Regions from separate parts of the Homo sapiens genome. Here region 1 is linked to region 2. Evidence: promoter capture Hi-C in 16 types of primary human blood cells and fetal thymus (Javierre and others, 2016). All regions are on one chromosome and are shown on one strand. Each heading gives the region's core, a stretch centred on a gene start or on the middle of the fragment in contact. The rest is flanking DNA. Distances are from core to core; before and after follow the strand shown.

What was found. The method cuts DNA at HindIII sites, captures the fragments that hold promoters and counts their contacts. A CHiCAGO score of 5 or more calls a contact.
Region 1: a contact is called between the fragment with the promoter of NUFIP2 here and the fragment with the promoter of GIT1 in region 2, in 2 of 17 cell types (endothelial precursors and fetal thymus). The highest score is 5.7, in endothelial precursors.

What each region holds. Positions count from the first base shown.
Region 1 is chr17:29,292,419-29,295,614 of GRCh38, reverse strand. It overlaps NUFIP2 (nuclear FMR1 interacting protein 2), which reads left to right and starts at 1,467. Exons shown (of 4, transcript NM_020772.3): 1 at 1,467-1,832. The coding sequence starts at 1,556. RefSeq lists enhancers at 1,099-1,298, 1,609-1,708, 1,402-2,162 and silencers at 1,869-1,988, 2,619-2,798. The HindIII fragment of the contact is 5,437 bases long and covers 1-3,196 here.
Region 2 is chr17:29,588,118-29,591,737 of GRCh38, reverse strand. GIT1 (GIT ArfGAP 1) reads left to right here and starts at 2,090. Exons shown (of 20, transcript NM_014030.4): 1 at 2,090-2,411. The coding sequence starts at 2,360. RefSeq lists silencers at 1, 1,762-2,241, 2,502-2,691 and enhancers at 1,110-2,009, 2,909-3,620. The HindIII fragment of the contact is 9,256 bases long and covers 1-3,620 here.

The sequences.
Region 1 (3,196 bases), core at 218-2,717, 300 kb after region 2:
TATGCTACTCTGAAGACATTATGCAAAAAAGCTAGTCACAAAAAGACAAATACAGTACAATCCCACTTATATGAGGTACCTAGAATAGTCAAGTTCGTAGAGACAGAAAACAGAACAGTGGTTATCAAGGGATGGAAGGAGGAGGGAAAGGACATTTATTTTTATTGGGTATGAAGTTTCAGTTTGGAATGATGAAAAAGTTCTGGAGATAGATGATGGTCATGGTTCTACAACAATACGAATGTACCTAATGCACCTGAACCATACACTTAATATTAAGATGGTAAATTTTATATTATGAATATTTTACAATTAAAAAAATCCCCCAATCTATAACATACATTGGGAAAAGTGCATTTTATCTGTATATTCAGTTTAACAAATAATTACTAAGCAAATATATGTAATCACCACCTAGCCCCCAAAATGAAATATTATCAGAGTAACCTGTGTCCCTCCCCATCACAACCCTCTTCCTTCCTGAGTAACCACTATCATGGCTCTAACATTTGCTTTTGAAAATCATATACTGTGATGTGGTAATGCAGGATAAGTTAAATCTACACTACAAAACGCTACAGAATATTTCTTTTAATTTCAATTTTTCCATAAGTGCCAAAAAAAAAAAAAACAAACCCACTTAATAACTTTTAAGTGCTCTTTCTCCCCTTCCTTTGCTCTTGAAACTTCTCATTCTAAAACCTATTTTGGTTCCACAGTTGACCTCACCTGCAGAGTTTAATTAAAAAAAAAAAAACCTTCAGTGTAAATTTTCATTCCTCCTGCTCTCCCTTGCCTCCAACTACAAAGAAACAATGATTTAAACCCTTTGTGCCCTTTTAGAAAATTACACAGATACCCCATTGTGGAACCCTATAATCCCTTCGTGGAAAGGAAGAGATTAGCATATGAATACAAAGCAAAATGAATCCAGAATACAAAATGATCTACTGGATTGTGAAGCTCTTGTATGCTTAAAAATGTATTTATTTCCTCTTTTTGTATTGCCCCTTTAGTGGTCTCGGGGTTAAGGGAATTGAGCTTCCCTTTCTGGTTACCCGGAAAAGGATTAAAAACAAAACAAAACAAAAAACAAAAAAACACCAGATTCTAAGAGGTGCAAAGCCAGCAGATGGCTCACAGCACCAGTGGAATCGCCAGTGGAATCTGCTACCCTCGACACGAGCCTGCTTGCCGGCGAGGAGTGTAGAAAGTGCTGTTCACAGACTGCGTGGTGAAGGAGAGAAAGCGACAGAAGAGAGAGCCATAGTGCTGACGTTGAAGGCCCGGCCCTGTGAGGTTGCACAGGGTAAGTGGCGTTGGCCAGGCGGCAGCGGCGAAGGGGAAGGAAAGAGGATTTGAGCTGGGGGCGGGGCTTGCGGCACAGCGTGGCTCCTGATTGTTGGAGTGCGGCTGCCAATCTCGCAGAATCGCTCGGTTAACCAGTGCGCTGGCGAGACGCGCTCAGATATACTGAGTGAGCCCTGAGAAGCAGTCTCAGATCCTGACGGTGCAGCAGCCCGCAGCCTCAGCCAGGGAGTCCCAGCCGCTTTCAATGGAGGAGAAGCCCGGCCAGCCACAGCCTCAGCACCATCACAGCCACCACCATCCGCACCATCACCCTCAGCAGCAGCAGCAGCAGCCGCACCACCACCACCATTATTATTTCTACAACCACAGCCACAACCACCACCACCACCATCATCACCAGCAGCCTCACCAATACCTGCAGCATGGAGCCGAGGGCAGCCCCAAGGCCCAGCCAAAGCCGCTGAAACATGAGCAGAAACACACCCTCCAGCAGCACCAGGAAACGCCGAAGAAGAAAACAGGTCTGGGAGGGAGGACGGGTGGGGGAAGGGGGTTGGGGGTGGAGGACAGGAGAGATGGGGGTGGGGCTGGATCCGAAAAGCGCGGACGGGGTCGGGGTGTGTGTGTGTGTGTCCCCTCCGGCTCTGGGGATGCCCCTTTCATTCTAGAGCTCGGGCTGAGCAATGGGGTTTGCAGCGCCCTCTCCTTCCCTCCAGCATGGGAGAGGCCCAGCCAGGCCAGCGTGACCTTCCTGGCCCCGGCCCCGGCTGAAGGGAGACCTGCTGGGTCGGCCTTGCAAGTCCAACCTCATTATTCTTTTCCCATTCACCTCCCTGCGTCCCTGGAGTTACCTCAATTTGGGGGCCCTGAGATGGGGTAAACCTACCCCCCCAAAAAATCCCTCGAGGTGTAACTCAGGAAGGCCTAGCGAATCCCGACTCGGATGGTGTCGCGAGACCCTTTTGCAGGCGGCGAGGAGTGGGTAGGTAGGGTGAGTTGAGGAAGTGCCCCTCACCCGCCACCCCAAGCCCACCTGTGGCCTTGGGGCTCCCCGTCTCGGTGGGGGGGGCTGTTGGGACCCCTCATCTCACGGGTCATTTCCACCACTAAACGCCCTTTTTGGGCGCCGGACCCCGCAGTCTTGTCCCGCGGCTCCTCCCGAGGCCGGCGCCCCGCGCCCGCTCCCCCCAGAGCCGGCGCGGCTGGAATGTTCTCTCCTCCTCGCGGGGCCGCTTCCTGTCCGCCATGTTGGAAGCCGATTCCTGTCACCGACTCCGGCCCACTGAGGAGCGGAGGGGGAAGGGTGTCGAGGGCCACACGGGGCGGCGGAGCCGGGTGACCCGGGATCACCACCGGCCGCAGCCTCGCCCCCTGCACTGCGGGGGCGCCGGCGCCCCCCGCACCGCGGCCGCCCCCCCCCCCGTCGCCGGCCGGGGTTGTGTAACCCGGTGGCGGCGCGCGGCCCCGGGCGGGTCCCTGGGGTGAGGGGCGGGGGCGGTTGGGGTGGGGGAGGGAAGCGGCCACGAGGGGAGCGGCCTGCGCAGGGCCCCGCGCGCCAGCGGCCGCGTTTCCCGCTCCCGGGTGCGGCGGGAGGCGCGGGCAGTCGGGGCGGGGAGCCGGCCTCGAAGCGGAGCTGAGAGGGAAGGAGGCCGCGGGCGGCGGCCGCGGCGCTCCTAGAGGCAGGAGGCCTGGGGGGGCGGCGGGGGGATTCATTTCGGGTAGAGGCGGTGCCTGAGGCCGGGTGGGGTACCCAGCGGGAACCCAGCTCCCCGGTCACGAGTTTCTCTGCCACAGGAACCTCGTCTCCTGCCAGGTTCGCTCACGACTCCGCCTCTGAGGCTTTCACTTGGGCCTTTTCCTTCTAGCAGCTCATTTTCTACAAAAA
Region 2 (3,620 bases), core at 841-3,340:
ATGCCTGTGCATTTCCTTATTAAATTGTTTTTCGAACCTTGTGTGTGATTCCACTGTAGCAGTCCTGCTTCCTGGGGTGGTGACATCTCCACGGGGGAATCCAGAAACCCTTTTATCTCCAGTCCCAGGCCCAGAAGTTTGGCTGTGACGGGGCTGGGGGAAACAAAGTTTGGACGATGTGTCCGCGCCAGGGCCACTCCCAGGTAGTCTCTGAGCCAACCAGGAGATGGGGAGTGGGGTGGAGGGGTAAGCAGAGTGAATCATCCTTCTTCCCCAGCAAAGCCCAGGAGTCCGAGGACAGGGGGAGTTCAGGATGGATTGTGGGGAGTTGTCGATTGTGGGGAACTGTCCCCTGGGCGGCCGTGTTCTTTTTTTGCCAGGCGGCGGTAGACACTGAACCCAGGTCGCTTGCGCTTCGGCCCGCGCTCTCAGCTGCCACGTGCTCGAGACGCGCCCACACAGCGGAGAAACAAAGACAGCCAAGCGGCAGGGCTGCCAGCAGCCTCCTCGACATTTAATAAATGAAATTCCATAGCTGGGGGTCGATCGGGGGTGAACGGGCGGCCACCGCTCGTGGACTGAGCGCCTGGCACGGGCTGCCTGGCCACTCCTCCCGTCTCACTCCCCCCGCCCCTTACCCCCTTCCCGCTGAGGCCACCAAGCCCATGGACTCTGGTGAGAGAGCAGCTCGGGGCGGCAGGTGGTGCTCCCCCCTACACACCAGCTAGGTATCGTTGCTTGCAAAAGCCCCACCAGCTGAGCGGCTGGCTGTCGAGGGAGGGGAGGCCTGCAAGATTTTTTTAAGGTGCAATTATAAATAAAGCCCATGGATCGCGATTTCAAACAAACTTGTCAATCTGGGCCGCAGCAAAAGGCGATGGAGGCAGCTTTGCATGTATTTCGGGTGGTGTGACTCATGAGCATTACTTGTCTCCCCTAGGGAAGGAGCCTGCCCACCCACAAATCACTGCCGCTCTGGCACCGTTGGGATAATCGACCAACTTGAGCACCCCTGCCAAAGGACTGCCCCCATCTTAACAAGCAGGAGTCTCTGACTCTTGGAGAACCCCTCCTCAATTGTCACCACTGACCTGGCCCCCAGGTCTGGCCCTGGGGACCTCTACCCTCTCCCCACAAGCAGAGTGCCCGGGCCTTTTGCTGCTGCAGGGATTGGGGGTTGGGTACACGCGCGGCACACGCGTATGGGGGCGCATGCTCAGTGCGGGGGCTGCGCTCATGTGCGGCCTCTACCTAGGCTCCCTGCCCCCCAGCCCACCCACGTCCCTCACCTGCCTTGCCTTTGCCTGCCTCGTCGTGTGAAGTCCAGGAAGAAAGGCCGTCACCTGAAACGGCCCCTCTATGTTATATGCACCCTTTCTGGACACACACACCTCTGGTGGCCCAGAAACACCGTGGGTGTGTGTAAGGCGGATGACAAGTGGATGTGAGTGCACACAGGCACAGTGGTCACTCCTCGGGAGGTCTTTAAAAACCGCCCAGATTCTCTCCTCTCTGGATGGAAGGATGCATGGAGAGATAGATATATTTTTAGTCCGGAGGCAGGGGAATACACTGCCTGACCTTTCTGGCACCTGGGCGTCCATATTGTTAGCAGTGGGCGTATTCAGCAAGAGTGTGACACATACACACACACCCCTGGACACACAGATGTGGACACCTACGGGACAGGGACGCACACCTCACCCCAACCAGAGATAGACGGGTACCCCAAGGCACAGCCCCTTTGACCTGGAGCGGGACTTGGGCCTCCAAGTCCTTCTTCCCTAATCCCCACCCTCGCCGTCCGTGGGCCCAGCGTCCCCCGGTCCACCCCACGCGGAAAGTGAAGGGGAGGGGGCTGTGAGGGTGACTCACATTGCCTCCGGGCCAGGCGAGCGCTGCAGCGGAGGCCAGGGCCGCAGGCCACGCTGCCCGCCGGGGCCGGGCATCTGCCGCGGCCCCTTTAAGCGCCCCCGCCCCCTCCTGCCCGCGCCCGGGCTTCCTTTCTCTAGGGGGCGCGGCCGGCAGCGCGCGGCGGGGCGGGGGTGCGGCCCCTCCCCCTGTGGGCAGGGCCTGCGCCGCTTCCTGCAGAAGCGGCCGGGAGCCGCGCAGGGGGCGGAGAGAGGAGCCGCGAGCGGCGGCGGGGCGGCGCGGGGCGGAGGGCGCCCGAGGGCGAGCGGGCAGGCGGGCACGGCGGGTTCCGGGCCAGCCCCGGGGCGGACGGTTGGCCGGGCGCGCGGAGCCTCGCCGGGGCCTCGCCGGAGCCGGGCCGGGCAGCAGGGGCCGCCGCCGCCGCCCGGGCCCGCCGCCCGCGCCCCCCACGCTGGCCCAGAGGGCTGCGGCCGCGTCGCCGCTGAGGATGTCCCGAAAGGGGCCGCGAGCGGAGGTGTGTGCGGACTGCAGCGCCCCGGGTAAGCGCGGCGGGGCCGGGGGCGGGACCGCACAGCCAGGCCGCCGCCGGGCGGGCGCCGGGGCCTGGCAAGAGCGCTGTGCGGGGCCGGAGGGCTGGGCGGGGCGGGGGGCTGCGGCCTCCAGGCTGGGCCCCCGCCTCGGCCACTGCGGAGCTGCGCCCTTGGCGGGAGGGCCGGCCTGGGGTGCCCATGCTCCCTGGAGGCCGTGGACTAGCGAGGAAGGACGTTCCCGGCGCCGCCTCCCGCTCCTCGGTCTGAGGGAGGCGGGCAGCTGGCTGCTCCTCCACCTCCATCTCTGTATCCGACGGAAGCGCCAGCCTGGGGTGGCAGGAGGGCCGTGGCGGAGGCCGTCAGGGCTTGGGAGGTGGGGGCGAGTGTGGTTTTATGTCATCTCAGTGCCACCCCCGCGTCTTGCACCTGCTGCTCGCGTGGTCGGTACGCCTGCCGGGGTGGTGGAGGGCAAGGAGCAGAGGGCCGGGCAGATGCGCCAGTGGGGCCTGAATACCGTCTCCTCAGGAGCAGATGAGCGGTGGCTACTCCCAGGACTCCCTGCCTCGGGTTCCTAAGGCTAGCGCTCCTTGCCGGGCCTGGCGTTCAGGGCCAGTCTAGACCCGGGTGTCTTCTCGGGAGGCATCCCCAGGCCTGCTGGTGGTGACTGGGAACAGCTCGGCTGGACCCTGCTGTTCCTGTTCACCGGTAAGGCCTGCTTGGGAAAGTGAGCTTGGCATCAAGCTATCCTGGGTGCGGGCCCCTCCCTGTCCCCTAGCCCAGTCTGGCCAGAAATGGGTGGGAGGCCGTGCCGAGATTCCCCGTATCCTGCTGGCTTCCTGGCCTGTCTCCTGGCTGTATTTACATGGTGGTTCCCTTCCTTTTCCTAACAGAGTTAGGACTGGGCTGGAGTGAAACCCCCCAGGCCTGCTGAGGAAGTCAGGGGTAATGATCCAAGAGGCTGCTCCCTTCTGATGAGGGAGGACAGCCAGTGACGGGGCTCTGCAGCTGGCCTGGGAAGGAAGCTCTAGCCCACATCCATTCTTTCTTTAGCAAAGGAGCTATCTCCCTGGTAGGCCCCTGGGCAGGCTGCGGAGGTCCGTGAACTCTAGCGGGGCTGTGGGCATGATTAAGAGTGAGAGTATGGGGTGCTGGTTTGTGGGCCCATAACTTTCAGCCACCCCTTGAGCAGGCCCAGGACCCCACCGGTTGAGCCTCACA